Regions from separate parts of the Homo sapiens genome. Here region 1 is linked to region 2. The links are contacts of gene promoters, found by promoter capture Hi-C in human tissues and cell types (Jung and others, 2019). All regions are on one chromosome and are shown on one strand. Each heading gives the region's core, a stretch centred on a gene start or on the middle of the fragment in contact. The rest is flanking DNA. Distances are from core to core; before and after follow the strand shown. Region 1 overlaps RALGAPA1 (Ral GTPase activating protein catalytic subunit alpha 1). Region 2 holds the start of FAM177A1 (family with sequence similarity 177 member A1).

Region 1 (7,299 bases), core at 1,727-4,226, 650 kb before region 2:
GCAACCTGAATATTTTAAGCTACCAGTACAGAAAATTAGTAAGATTTAAAAATATGTAGATGTAATAATATAAATTTTAATAGATGGTAGAAAATGGCACACAATTTTGTTACGTATGATGCTTAGCTACAAATAAAGAATTAGGATATTTTTGTCTCTTTAGTGCACCATTTAAGCACTGTACCTCCTTATGTAAGTAGCACAGATTTTGGTTGCTTACATCAAATTATAATCTACTTAAGTTGGCAAACAATGTTTCTGTTCTTAAAACTGAATTAGATACAGCTAAAAGAAACTCTGAGTTTGTTGTAAACTTCTCTTGGATACATTTTTTGCTCCTAGCTTTTATAAAAGACACACTTAGAGCATTTAATGCAAACCATTCTTGACATGTTTAGAAAAATTAAAATGAGCTTTGAACACTTCCATTATTATTTTATTCTATTTATTTATTTATTTATATCGAGTACAGAATTTGAATTCTCTTGGCCACTAATTCTTAAAAGTTTGATTGGATTAGCCATTCCTCTACTGTTTTAAAAAAACTGTCAGAAAGATTTATTTTTTTCTCCACATCTTAAGGGATTTACAGAATTTCTCATCTGCAACTTAATATATTGGCAAATATTCATGTTAAGTGCTAAAACATTTTTGAATAGCTAAAACAAAGATAAGGTTGTTCCTTTCAAAATATTTTAGAGTGGTGCCATACCCAGGATGAGAAGTTCCTATTTCAGAATTCTTGCTTTGCTGTAAATACATAATTCAGAAAGTTTACCTTTTTAATGATTTTATGATTTAAACATTTATGAGCACTGTTGGAAAGGAATTTTCTAAATGGCAATTTTATTTGTTGTATTCCTTTTCCCTATCTGGGGTAATATGCCTTCTATGATAAATTTAAAGATTTAGATGGTGTTGAGACATCAGTCACTAAAACAAAACAAACTTTATATCTGATTATCAAAATAATGTTCATTTTAGAAAACATGGATTATATGGAAAAGCATATGCAAAAATACACATAATCCTCCAAAACCAGTGATAATTTATTGACAACTTCAGATGCTTTTACTGCCAGTTTTTTATGCTTGTGTACATTTAAAATATAAAAGCATAATTACAGTTATTTTGAATTAAAAATCATTTTTTTCTCTTAGAATTTGAAAGAGGCAAGGAACCTGTCACTTTAAAATAGCAAAATCCCTCCTTTCCTGATTGCAAATGAAGTCAGGATTTTTCAAGCTGATACGTAAATTTAGAACACTTTCCAGGAGATGCAAATAGGTGTGTAGAGGAAAAGATTAAAGATTCATAGTGCAAATCAACATACCAAAGGCCCTTAGAAAACCTGTTAAAAAAAAAAACAAAACTGTTGGCCAGGCACAGTGGCTCACACCTGTACCCCCAGCAACTTTGGGAGGCTGAGGCAGGCAGATCATGAGGTCAGGAGTTTGAGACCATCCTGGCTAACGCGATGAAACCCCATCTCTACTAAAAATACAAAAAAACTAGCCAGGCTTGGTGGCAGGCGCCTGTAGTCCCAGCTGCTCAGTAGGCTGAGGCAGGAGAATGGCATGAACCCAGGAGGTGGAGCTTGCAGTGAGCCGAGATCGCCCACTGCACTCCAGCCTGGGCGACAGAGCAAGACTCCGTCTCAAAAAAAAACAAAACAAAACAAAACAAAAAAAAACACTGTTTATAATTGAATATGTCTCAGACTTATTTAAGCACAGAACACCTTTCCAAGTACACATATTGATATCCTGTGCCATTAAGGTTCCAGAGAGAACCAATATGAAAATTAAGCAGGATTAATCTTCTACCAGTTTACATTGTAGAAATCTAAATTATTGGATTGGTCTTTGCCTCTGCGATTCTTGGAAGCAAATTAAAGACTTGGAATTTGATTCCTCAGGTGTTAGGTGTAGAGCGAAGGAGAGTGGAAGAGATAAGAGAAAATGTATGAGTTATAAGAATAGAGAGTTGTAAAAATAGTGCTAAATTAAAAAACAATCACCAAAATCTTAGATCATCAACCAATCATACTTTTTAATTGCTGATGTTTCTTCCAAGGTTTGACTAAATTTTACTTTAGAATAGTTTAATGTGCAGAGAATTAATAAGAAAGTGAACTGTATGAAGGGGAAAAAGTAAATGGTTTTTCATGCTTTTGTAGCTCTCCCTCATGTGAATTAGCTTAAACGAACTCATAAAATATTTCCTGAGTCTATCTCTGAAATCAGGAAATGAGGTTTCTTCAACTACTTCACCAAAAAAAAACCTCAATGAAACGACTCATAGACAATCTACCTCTAGTTTATGGTTAGAAGTAGAATTTGTTAGAAAAATATTTATCTGATACTTTTGGATAATTGGGGAGGTAAAGGGAAGTCCTTTAAATCCTTTTTTTTTTTTAACGTACCAAAATCTATGAGAAAGGACCATCAGTTTTCTAAGTACCTTATTTGTTCCCAGCCCATTTTTCCTCCTCCAGTGTTCTTGTTCTAACTGTCCATACTACCTGCATTGTTGTAAGTATGATGCTATATGATATAGCTTTATATACAGCTATAGACTAACCTAGTTGAATAGTTGAGTATTCTTGAAGAGTTAAAAAAAAAAATTTTTTTTTTAATTTGCTCTGTTGCCTAGGCTGGAGTGCAGTGGTGCAAACATGACTCACTGCAGCCTTGACTTCCCTGCCTCAGCCTCCCATGTAGCTGGGATCATAGGCACGTGCCACCACATCCGGCTAATTTTTTTATTTTTTTGTAGAGACAGGGTTGTTGCCCAGGGAAATTCTGAACATAAAGTTGCCCAGGCTGGTCTTAAACTCCTGGGCTCAAGTGATCCTCCACACCTTGGCCTCCCAAAATGCTGGGATTACAGGCGTGAGCCACCACACCCAGCCCTTAAAGAGTTTTTCTTAAGCTCTGGGGACCAGTTTGTGGGCATTAGCACTATGTCAATGCACTGTTTCTTAACATCAGACTCATCTATAACAGTTTGAAAAATATGTATCAAATTTGATACAATATGTTGGCTTGCACAAACATCTAATATAATTTATTCTGGTGTCTGGGCAAGTACACTCCTTGGCTTCTCTCTCATTGGCCTTTGATAATTACTTATCATTACTGCACTAGATTGTAGACATTTGGTAACCCAGCCTGACAGTCATTATTTTCCTGATAAACAGATAAGAGAGAAGCCAGAAATCTGAATCATCGTTCTTAAGCAAATTACTTTTACTGCCAAAAGTAACACTTTAGTGAAAAAAGGAATATAAAAGTATATAAACATGGTAGGCAGCTTTGTGTATACTTCCACAAATGTTTCTTATTTAGTATTTTCTAATCAAGTACTATGAGTTTCTCATCCTGAAATTAAGCTTACAGACCCAGTTTCTTTCAACCAGTTCCCAAAACTGATTTGTCATTTTTGTTGCTATTGGACTCTGGTCTATCTAGGCTATAGTATGTAGACTGCTAATGTTGGGGACTGATCTCTTTTTATTAACGATATGTTATTATTTGAATTGAGCTCTTTATACTTCTGTTTTGTGACTGTCAATGAAAAATAAAATAGTATGTCTCACAGGCCTATCCTTTTCCTAAATTCTGCCCAATAAGGAGAATTTTTCATCTCATCAAAGAAGTAGGCCCTTCTTTATACAATCAAGAATTTTTTCCTGTCATCAGTGTAGAATAGGATATTAATATTTTACATATTTTCCACTTGTAATCTGCTGATTATAGCATAATTCCAATTAGATTTTTTTTTTTTAAGAGATAGGGTCTCATTGTGTTGCCCAGGCTTGATTGCTGTGGTGCCATCCTAGCTTACTGCAGCCTGGAACTCCTGGGCTCCAGCATTCCTCCCACCTCAGCCTCCTGGCAAATTAATTTTTTTTTCCTGGAATAATTTACGTTAATTTTTTTGAGACACAGTCTTGCTGTGTCGCCCAGCCTAGAATGCAGCGGTGCAATCTTGGCTCACTGCAACCTCCACTTCCTGGGTTCAAGCAATTCTTGTGCCTCAGCCTCCCGAGTAGCTGGGACTACAGAAGTCCGCCACCATGCCTAGCTAATTTTTTTTTAATTTTTGGTAGAGATGGGGTTTCACCATGTTGGCCAGGCTGATCTCGAACTCTTGACCTCAGGTGGTCCACCCACCTGGGCCTCCCAAAGTGCTGGAATTATAAGTGTGAGCCATTGCGCCTGGCCTGCATTAATTTTTTAAAAAGAACATCTCAAGAAAAATGTGAAGCTAACTTAAACATGACATTATATAGCATAATCATAAGCAAAACACTATACTTTTCTTAACATAAAAAATGTATTGGTAGTTTATGTTCAAAATTTTAAAATCAGGAAAACAATATTAGAATAAAAGAGAAGATAGTCGACTGGGCTAAATTTTAGTGGTTTAAATGAAAACTATTGAGCTTGATTTGTTGCTTTTAAGTCTTTTCATATGATTACAATAATGTAAAAACTGCTTTGAATTACCTGCAAATTGAACATCTAATCTTAAAAAGATAGAATTTTAATAGCCTCTGTTAATAATATTTGAAACATAGATGCTCTATCGTTTTTACTTACCTTGAAGTACATTGCCGTTGTTGCCCAAATAGACAAAAACTTAGGTAATTAGCAGAAAAAAACTGAGTTTCAAAATGGCATCAATTTCTATGTAAACTAGTTTAAATGATATTATGAATTTAGGGACCATAAAAATATTACTGATAGCTAACGTTCGTGCTTGACCAGTAAAATAATTTAACTTTAGTAAAGGGGATTTTGGCCCTTGATTCTATGATTCATTTCAGAAATTATTAAAATTTCTAGTGATATGTTAGTATTTTAACTGAAGAGTTTGTGAGTAACTAACTTGCTTTTTACCAATAAGCAGCTACTTTTTTTTTTTAAGGCGAGCTTTTCTTCTACCAGTATTTATTAAGCCCATACTTATGTGACAGGTCCTCTTTCAATCAATAGAGATATTGCAATGAACAAAACAAAAATCCTCAAGAGACTTAAATCTAGTGGAAAGGAGTACTTTTTTCTTAACATTTTATAAGCTGACAGTATACTTTAATGTACAGCTTTCCTTTCAAACTAACACAGGAAACTTTTTGAACAAAATATTTCCGGGAAAAAACCGGTTTTTTAATCTAGAAATAATTGACCCATTTTAATGCTAAACAGTATTAAGGAAACCCAGAGATAAAACTTGACATTTCTGTAACTTTATAGAGTTTTTAAACTCTAAATTTAAATTTATTTTACCAAAGCATTTTCTCAATGTTCAAAAGCAGTTTGTGTAAATCTCTTGAAAACAACGTTTTTATTGTTTCACTCATTAAGTGGTTTCTAATGCTTTAGATTAACATTTAATTGAAAAGACTATACTTTCAAGCATAATTTCTAAGGTATGTTAGTAGAGGAGTTTCTCTGAACATGGGTGATCGTTCTTCTCTTCCTCTGGGAGAGTAAGAGGACACAGTTGGTTTCCCTTAAGAAAAAGAAAAGAAAGAGAAAAATATATAAAATTTTATTTAAAAGCTTTCATTTTTTAAGTTAAAATATAAGAAGCATAATTAAATTGTTTTGAGGGCATTTTTATTTAAACCTGATGCCACCATTATTTTTAGCAATTCAAAGTTTTTTTATTGGTTCCTTCTGTATAATTTACTAACATTTGTTTTAGTTAGATTTTTATTTCTAACATTCTTATCTTTATAGAGATAAATCACTATGCTGCTCTGTGGTTTTTTTAAAATTCTTTTTTGTTTATATTGAGATATAACTAAAGCCTGGCTTTATGGTTTTTTAATAATACAATTAATTTTTACCAAGTTTTATTTAAAAATTAATAAATTATTTCATGAGTACAAAACATATATGATGTATTATTCAAGAGATTAAGAGTAAAGATTAATTTCTGCCTTACTTGACACCACAACTCCTCACTTTGTAGTTGTGTAATTTTGGACAAGTCACTTAAAGAGTTTCTTCATTTATAAAATAGGCATAGCACCTACTTCATGGGGTTGTTGTGAGGATTAAATGAATGATATGTCAGATGCTTACAACAATACCTGGCATGTGGAAAATACTATATATAGTTTAGTTATTATTTAGTCTTTTTCTCAGTAAAGTTCAGCTGTATATATTTGCTCAACTAATGTAAGGCTTATTAGAGTCAATTATGCTCAATTCAAGTGCCATTTGTATTGACATAATTCAGCCCTCTTGATCTGAATTTAGCATAAAGTTGGTTTCCTGTCAGTGTTATTTTCTTCTTTGATTTTATGTAGTTAGTATTATTATGTGCCATGAAAGAACTATATTTAAATCTTAAGAATTTTTAAAAACATTGTTTAAATTTAAATTCTCCGGTACTACAATATTGGTAGAAAAAAACCAGTTACATTTTTTTTTTTTAAAGCTCTTTCCCTCTTAAGCTTGCACAGAAGTTTTAGATAGTCATATATGGTAACAAGTTTTAGGAAAAAAAAAAAACATAGGCTGAAATAATGGTTACGTTTTCTAATATACAAGGAGTGAGGGCTGAGTTTGGGAAGGAATTCCTAAACACAGAACATCATAATAATCTTTCCTGGCTTCTTTAGAATGGAAAAATTGTGAAATATCTATAAAAGAAATTAAAAATTAAAACTAATATTTTATTTTTTTCTGACATTTGTACATTTGCTAGTGTCATAATGTTTTTATGATTTTAATGTTTTGAAATCTTGATTTTGACCTTTGGTAAAATAAATTCCAAGCTATAAAATTCGTAAGAATTCTTATAGAACAGCTATACAGTCTTTATCCTTTGCTGAGTTCTTTAGAATATTGTGTGGAAAGAAATTTAGAGTGCATGCTGAATATAATCTCTGTCATTGAGGCAGAAGTTCTTATGATCTCTTATGGCAGATGTAAAAAACCGAAATATTTATGTTTGTCAAGATGCACAGATATGAGTTAGTTATCTGCTGTATTAACAAACGCTTAATGAGTATAAGTGCATCAAAGTGAAGTTTGTAAGGAAATGTTTCGCTTTTCACTTAGAAAAATTTCTCAGTGGAGTGCATGAGGAAGAAAAACAATGTCATTTTTTAAAGTTGCACATTCCCCTCAGTTTAAGGACAAAAAGTTAATTGTTTCAGCTTCAGGAGATACTATATATTTAACCTATGTTGAGAGCCTACTAGTATATCACTAGGAATATACTAGAATCTTGGCATAATACAAACCTATGTTGATCTCAATTTAGTATAAAGTAGGT
Region 2 (7,349 bases), core at 1-2,500:
CCGCCTTGGCCTCCCAAAGTGTCTTTTTGTCTAATACTGAAAAGTTGCAAGAAACGTTAACTCTCTAAACCAGCGCTGTCCAATACAGTAACCACTAGCCACATGTGGCTAATGCGCACTTGAAATGTGGTCAGCCAGAACTGCGATATGCTATGCGTGTAAAATGCACCCAGGATTTAAAAGACTTAGAAAAGACTCCAAAAGAGAATGCAAATACTTCATTAATAACTTTCATAGTAATTTTAGGTTGAAATTGTTTTGATAAATTAGGTTAAATAAGATATGCTATTAAAATTAATATCGGTTTCACTTTTTTAAAACGTGCCTACTGGAAAATTTTAAATTACAATTTTCAATGCAGCTTGCATTCTATTTATGTTGGACAGCGCAGCTCGGAGCCTTAGTTGCCTCGGCGGTGAAATGGGGCTAACACCCACCTCGAGCGGTTACTGTAAGGATCCAGTGAATTAAAGCTGGTAAACGTTTGGCATATGCCAAGCAAAGGGCAGATGCCCAGGCAGGCGCTCGCACCAGAAGAGACTGAGAAGTGGTTGAAGCCGCCCTCACCTGGCTTCCAGCTACTGCAAGGACAGCCTTTGGGGGACACGCCTTTCTTCTTCCTCTGGTAGACCAGAAGCTGGACTATCACCCCAGGAACCCGAGGCCGCCCCAGAGTCTGCTGTGCTGCCAGCCAAGGGGTTGGTGAGTGAGGCGGGGGGCGCTCCTTCCCACAAGCTGGTCTCAGTGAGCAGAAACAGGGGTGCAGTGAGGAGGAACTCCAAAGCTGGGGCGGCCTGCTCGGAGGACGGCCGCGCAGGCTAAAAGAGCGGCCCGCGGAGAAGGCAAGGAGGCGGCTCGGCTCCCCGGACGTCAGCCTCGGCGGCCCCACCTACCTGCCCTGCAGATTCCCCGAATGCCGCGGCGGCCGCAGCTCCCGAGGCTGCGACGGCTTCTCCTCGTTCCACACCGCCCACTGGCTCCTGGTCCATCGTCGTCGCCACCACAGGGCTGCTGGCGCTGGTGAGAAAGAGGGTAATGGCCGGTAAGCCCACTTCCATCCTTGGTCTCCCCGCCCAGTCGCTGGCCGAGCCAGGCTGTCGGGAAGTGGGACTCACCCGCCCAGCGCCCGCCTCGCGCCGCGCCTAGCCAAGTCTCTGAGAAGGGGACTCGCCGGCCTGAGGGGCGGGGCCAGCCCGCGCCTCGCCTAGCCCGCCGGGCTCCGCACCCCGAGAGCTGGCCAACTGCAGTCTGGGAGGCGCAACTACCGGCTCGCGCGGGGCGGGGCGGGGCGGGGCGGGTCCTTGCGGGGCGTCGCTTCCGGCCAAGCAAGCATCCAGAGCTCGTGGATCCCCGCCTGGCACCGCCTGTGACGTCATTTCTGGTACGTGTACCTGAAGCCTGGCGTCTCGACCTCGGCGCAGCCCGTCACCAGCGGCGTCTGGGGCAGTCACCCCGCAGGACCTCGGTTTTTGCACTTGTAAAATGAAGACAGCTGTGTCGTTGTACTTCAAAGGCTAGTGATGGGATGTGGTTGCTGAAAAATGTAAAATGTACGGCTCGTGCTGCACTTTCCATTCCAAACGTGGGTGACAGTCCAGCCAAAATACCCTCGAAAGAAGAACCCCAGGCGTGATATTTGCTTACTCTTGTCTGAAATACTTAAGTATAACTGTAGAAAGTGTTAAGTGAAAAGACCTGAAGGAGAGCAAAGGGCAGTAGTAAGCTTCCATCTTGACAAATGTAAGGAATGTTTTATCTGTGTCTTAAAGTCGTGTGCGTATGTTAGAGGGGGCGTCCCAGATTTTTTCCGTCTTTCGCAATGTTCAACGAAAGTAAAAAATCATGCAATTACTGCATGACTTCAACATCAAACAAGTCTGAGGTTCTGCAGGTAAATGGTATATTGTTGTTTTAGCATGAAAGTTTTCACAAATATGTAGGGGGCAAAACCAAAACATACATTATTTTGGCTATGGGAGGCTTCATTTGATACTTTAAATTCCATTTTCATACTAGTCTCAATTCAGAAATGCTCCCTAAAGTTGTATGACCTTGTAAATGTTTTTCATCATAGCAACAGCAGGCCCAAATATTAAATATTCCTTTCTCTTCTGTGCCAAAGTTCTTCTCCTTACCCTCTGCCTAATGTTATTGTACACTTCCTATTCTATGTATAACTGGAACCTAAAAACAAAACCAAAAACTTTAAAAAACAAATAATCATTTGAAAACCATCTACGCCTTAAAAACTAGTTGGAAATCCATATTGCTCTCTATCCTGGTAATAAAATCAAGTTAGGTTGCTGCTGAAGTAAACAAGTTAGTACCTGATCTGACTCTGTATGGTGGCATCAGCAGGGAGTTGAGACAGTCCAAAACAGCAAAACCAAACTCGGCCATAAATTGAAAACAAAAATAAAGAACCAATTGTTAAGACTTCATGAATTGGCATTCATAAACAACACAGTTCTGCATTATATGTATTCAAAATCTCTTCCTTCTTACTGGCAAGCAGGGCAATCAACAATCTTTATTACTAAAACTTTGTGGGATATTTATAAATGCATGATTTTATTTTCCAAAGTGGCAATTAAATATCAAATTACAATTTTCTTTTTCTTTTTTTTCTTTTTTTTTTTTTTTGAGATGGGGTCTCACCCACGCTGGAGTGCAATGGCGCAATCTTGGCGCACTGCAACATCCGCCTCCCGGGTTCAAGCGATTCCCCCACCTCAGCCTGCCAAGTAGCTGGGATTACAGTTGTGCACTACCACGCCCGGCTAATTTTTGTATTGTTAGTAGAGACGGGGTTTCACCATGTTGGCCAGGCTAGTATCGAACTTCCGACCTCAGATGATCCACCCACCTCAGCCTCCCAAAGTGCTGGGATTACAGGCGTGAGCCACCACGCCTGGCCTCAAATTACAATTTTCATTGCCGAAGCAGAATATATTTTCACAGTTTACATGTGTATTTCTTAGTTTACTGAAAATTCAAAGTACAAGTTACATTCTAACGTGAACTGGAAGTATTTCCTAAAAAGTTATTTTTAACACAAATATCCAATTGAAGAGCAGTTTATTACAAATCAACAACTCGGGCTGGGCACGGTGGCTCACGCCTGTAATCCCAGCACTTTGGGAGGCGGAGGCGGGTGGATCACGAGGTCAGGAGATCGAGACCATCCTGGCTAACACGGTGAAACCCCGTCTCTACTATAAAATACAAAAAATTAGCCGGGCGTGGTGGCGGGCGCCTGTAGTCCCAGCTACTCGGGAGGCTGGGGCAGGAGAATGGCGTGAACCCGGGAGGCGGAGCTTGCAGTGAGCCGAGACCGCGCCACTGCACTCCAGCCTGGGCGACAGAGCGAGACTCCGTCTCAAAAAAACAAAAACAAAACAAATCAACAACTCAAAGCAACATAAAAGCATAGAAATTCTAATGGTTTTATTTTGGACATTTATATTTTTGTCATTATTTCCAAACTGTTATAGCTCAACCAAAAGTAGGCACCAAGGCAATGTGCCAAATTTTTCCTTCTTTCACTTTGTAACATAAATTGTATCGTAGCACTATGACAAAAATAAATTCAAGTATTATGATAATTTATCTACTTGAAAACATAATGTGGTCTAAATTTATCATTTAATGATACATATAGAGCTAAAAAGGTAAATTTGGATTGAACCATTTCTGCGTAAGGCTGGGAAAATAAATCTGAATAAAATTTGATAACCAGGAATGTTCATCAAATAAACAAGACATTCTTAGGGTTTTAACATAGCTACATATATATACTTTGATAGAGAATTTTTTAAGTTATCCATCAAACAGGACAATATATTTTCATCAAAAATAATGCACAAGAAAAAAAGATGATAAAAATAAAAATGCATTTTAGGTTCAGTCTAAGCATAAAGAAATTTTTTTTTTTTTTTTGAGACAGGGCCTTACTGTATCACCCAGGCTGGAGTGCAGTGGCACAATTATGGCTCACTGCAGACTCAGACGATCCTCCCACCTCAGCCTCCTGAGTAGCTGGCGTGTACCATCACACCTGGCTAATTTTTATATTTTTTGTAGAGATGAGGTTTTGCCATGTTGCCCAGGCTGAATAAGTTATTAAAATCATGGTAGTGGTTTCACTTATGGAGCACAATATGCCAGGTACTTTGCTTTCTTTGTATTAACTCTTATTCCTCACAACAATTCTGAAGTATTACTGTAACTACCAACATGTTATAGATGAGGAAACAAAGAGAAGTTAAGCAACTTGCTCCAGTGACGCAGCTGGTAAGCAGCAGAGCTGGGATTAAAACCCAGGCATTCTGATTCCACCACCTACACACTTAGCCATTCCGCCCCACTGAGAATGAAAATGTCAAAAAATACTAGGCCAGTAAGTGTTAGCAAGGCAAGAAATTTCCACACCAAAGGTGAGTATGTTGTTTGGAAAGATTGGGATGGAAATGAGTAAAGTATGTTTCTTTTTAAAAGTCTTTTAGTAAGCTTTAAAGCTCTATATGTAAGAAGCAGATGAAAATACCAAGTGAATTTTTAGATTTGATGTTATGTAAGGTTTTGTTTTGTTAATTAAAATTTGGTCATTTTGTGTGTGTGTGTGTCTGTGTGTGTGTGTGTGTGTGTGGTGAGAATATACCAGTGATATCCAATCACCAAAATTTTCTTTTTTTTTTTTTTGAGACAGTCTCACTCTGTCAGCCAGGCTGGATTGCAGTGGCGTGCTCTTGGTTTACTGCAGCCTCGATCTCCTAGGCTCAAGTCATCCTCCCACCTCGGGTCCCAAGCTGGGACTACAGGCACACATCACCACACCCAGCTAATTTTTGTATTTTCCCAGAAAGGGGTTTCACTATGTTGGCCAGGCTGGTCTCAAACTCCTGGCCTCAAGTGATCCACCCGCCTCAGCCTTCCAAAGTGCTGGAATTACGGGTGTGAGCCACCATGCCCGGCCTAGAATTTTCTGTATGGTATTAGGCATAAAATAACTAGCTTTCTTTGCACACTATGCTAGACTCAGTAATTTTAATGTTGGAGAGCTGTGCATCTTCATCTAAAATCTGTAGAACCCTGAGTGTCTTCTGATAAGAATCTATAACAAATATAAAGATATAATCCTTTTTTTTTTTAGACAGAGTCTTGCACTGTCACCTGAGCTGGAGTGCAATGGCACGATCTTGGCTCAATGCAACCTCCACCTCCCGGCTTCACGTGATTCTCCTGCCTCAGCTTCCCGAGTAGCTGGGATTACAGGCGCACACCACCACACCCAGCTTATTTTTTGTACTTTTAATAGAGATGGGGTTTCACTATGTTGGCCAGACTGGTCTCGAACTCCTGACCTGGTGATCCTTCCACCTTGGCCACCCAAAGTGCTGGGATTACAGGTGTGAGCCACTGCGCCCAGCAAAGATATAATCCTTTAAGGGATTATATTATTGATTCTGTTAAAGACAAATTATCTTTATTATAATAAAGACATAATCCTTGAAAGGATTATATTATTGATCTTTAAAGATCATGATTAAGAATGCCTCACCTCTCAGAGCAAGATCATACTTTTTTTTAACACAGTAAGAAGGAAATTGCAAAAAAACAAGGGACACACACCAACTGAAGAGTTTCACATTCTTATTTCCTACCAAGTGGAATGTCAAGAAACATGCAGCTATTTCTTGTACCAATTCTGACAGAATTGAGATTATGAACCCCTTAATTGATTTCCCAAGGTCAGAAAGCGTGGGCCAATGATGATATCCAATAACAATTCCCACCTCTTTTGGGTCACTGAGGAACAAGTTTCCCTGTCTATATAAAAGCATAAAACACAAGCAAACATTCCTGAAATATGGAAACATGCAGACATTATATGTTCTCACTTGATGCAGATATGAGACCTCTCTCTGGAAAAAGGCTCACAAAACTTTAGCATATCTTGCTTAAGAAAAATAGTCCGCAGTCACAGGCTGCAAAGGAAAAGCCTATATACAGCAATGTCAGAGGAATCTCAGACCTCAGGTAGGGGAGTTTCTTAGTGTCAGATTCACCTGAATCATCCCTCTTACAAACAAGTATTACTGTGCAATTTCTTGACTGTTTTTCCACTTATGATCCAAGTGGTACCAACAATGCACTGTGTTAGGCTAATGAGAGAACCTTTTAAGCCAAGTGAAGCTAAAAGATATAACATGCTCTTCAAATGAAGAGAGAAAAATGTAATGAAAGGACTGCAAAAAGTAGCATATGCATGCCAAACTCAAAAGAACCTATATGACCGTCAGCACCACATTAATAAAAGGAAATGTACCATAGTTACCAGCTTACAAGACATATTTTTACTTTAAAAGACTCCAAAAATTGGCCAGGTGCGGTGGCTCACACCTGTAATCCCAGAACTTTGGGAGGCCGAGGCGGGTGGATCACGAAGTCAGGAGATCGAGACCATTCTGGCTAACACGGTGAAACCCCGTCTCTACCAAAAATACAAAAAATTAGCCGGGCATGGTGGCGGGCGCCTGTAGTCCCAGCTACTCGGGAGGCTGAGGCAGGAAAATGGCGTGAACTCGGGAGGTGGAGCTTGCAGTGAGCCGAGATGGCACCACTGCACTCCAGCCTGGGCGACAGAGCAAGACTCCGTCTCAAAAAAACAAACAAACAAACAAACAAAAAAACTCCAAAAATTATATTGTATTAAATATGCCCATATTACAGATAAAGGCCAGTACAAGAGAAATAGGGCTTAGGGTCTTAGGTAAGCAATTACTGAAAACTGAGTACCTACCTACCCCTAGTGGCAAAGTGTGGAGGAAAACTATCATAGCAAGATTCACAGTGCATCCATTAACTACAAAATTAGCTACAAAAATAAGCCAAAGGCTACCCAACTGACTTAGAGGTAAAGTTTAAATTAATCCCCAGCATGTAAGGTGTAAACTCATCATTCCTACAACTCATGGCTCAAAAGCAAAGAAGGTAGTAGGTTCAAGCTTCATGTAACCCCTAAATGTTTGGAACGTAATTAGAACTTGGGGCAGAATTTTGAGGATGATGACTAATCTAGTGAATCCAAAGAATGACAATGATAAAGAGATCAAATCATGTAGACTTGAGCTGTGATGATGGCCTTCTGGTTTTGAATATGATCATTTACTTGGCTTTACCAATAGCTATTCATTTATCAATAACTATTCGTAAGTCTTTTTTTTTTTTTTTTTTTTTGTATTTTTTTTTTAAATTTATTTTTTAATTGATAATTCTTGGGTGTTTCTCACAGAGGGGGATTTGGCAGGGTCATGGGACAATAGTGGAGGGAAGGTCAGCAGATAAAC

What was found. Contacts are between HindIII fragments. The study calls those that stand out against the background at their distance.
Region 1: a contact is called between a fragment that was not itself captured here and the fragment with the promoter of FAM177A1 in region 2, in 1 of the 25 tissues and cell types used here (lymphoblastoid cells).

The regions. Positions count from the first base shown.
Region 1 is chr14:35,691,725-35,699,023 of GRCh38, reverse strand. All of the region lies in intron 17 of RALGAPA1 (Ral GTPase activating protein catalytic subunit alpha 1), which reads left to right. Among named protein-coding and RNA genes, the nearest start is that of SNORA101B, 68 kb to the left of the region's middle. The HindIII fragment of the contact is 3,012 bases long and covers 1,471-4,482 here.
Region 2 is chr14:35,040,173-35,047,521 of GRCh38, reverse strand. It overlaps FAM177A1 (family with sequence similarity 177 member A1), which reads right to left and starts at 1,250. Exons shown (of 5, transcript NM_173607.5): 1 at 894-1,250. The coding sequence starts at 1,058. RefSeq lists enhancers at 381-440, 541-810, 1,531-1,730 and a silencer at 1,061-1,410. The HindIII fragment of the contact is 5,057 bases long and covers 702-5,758 here.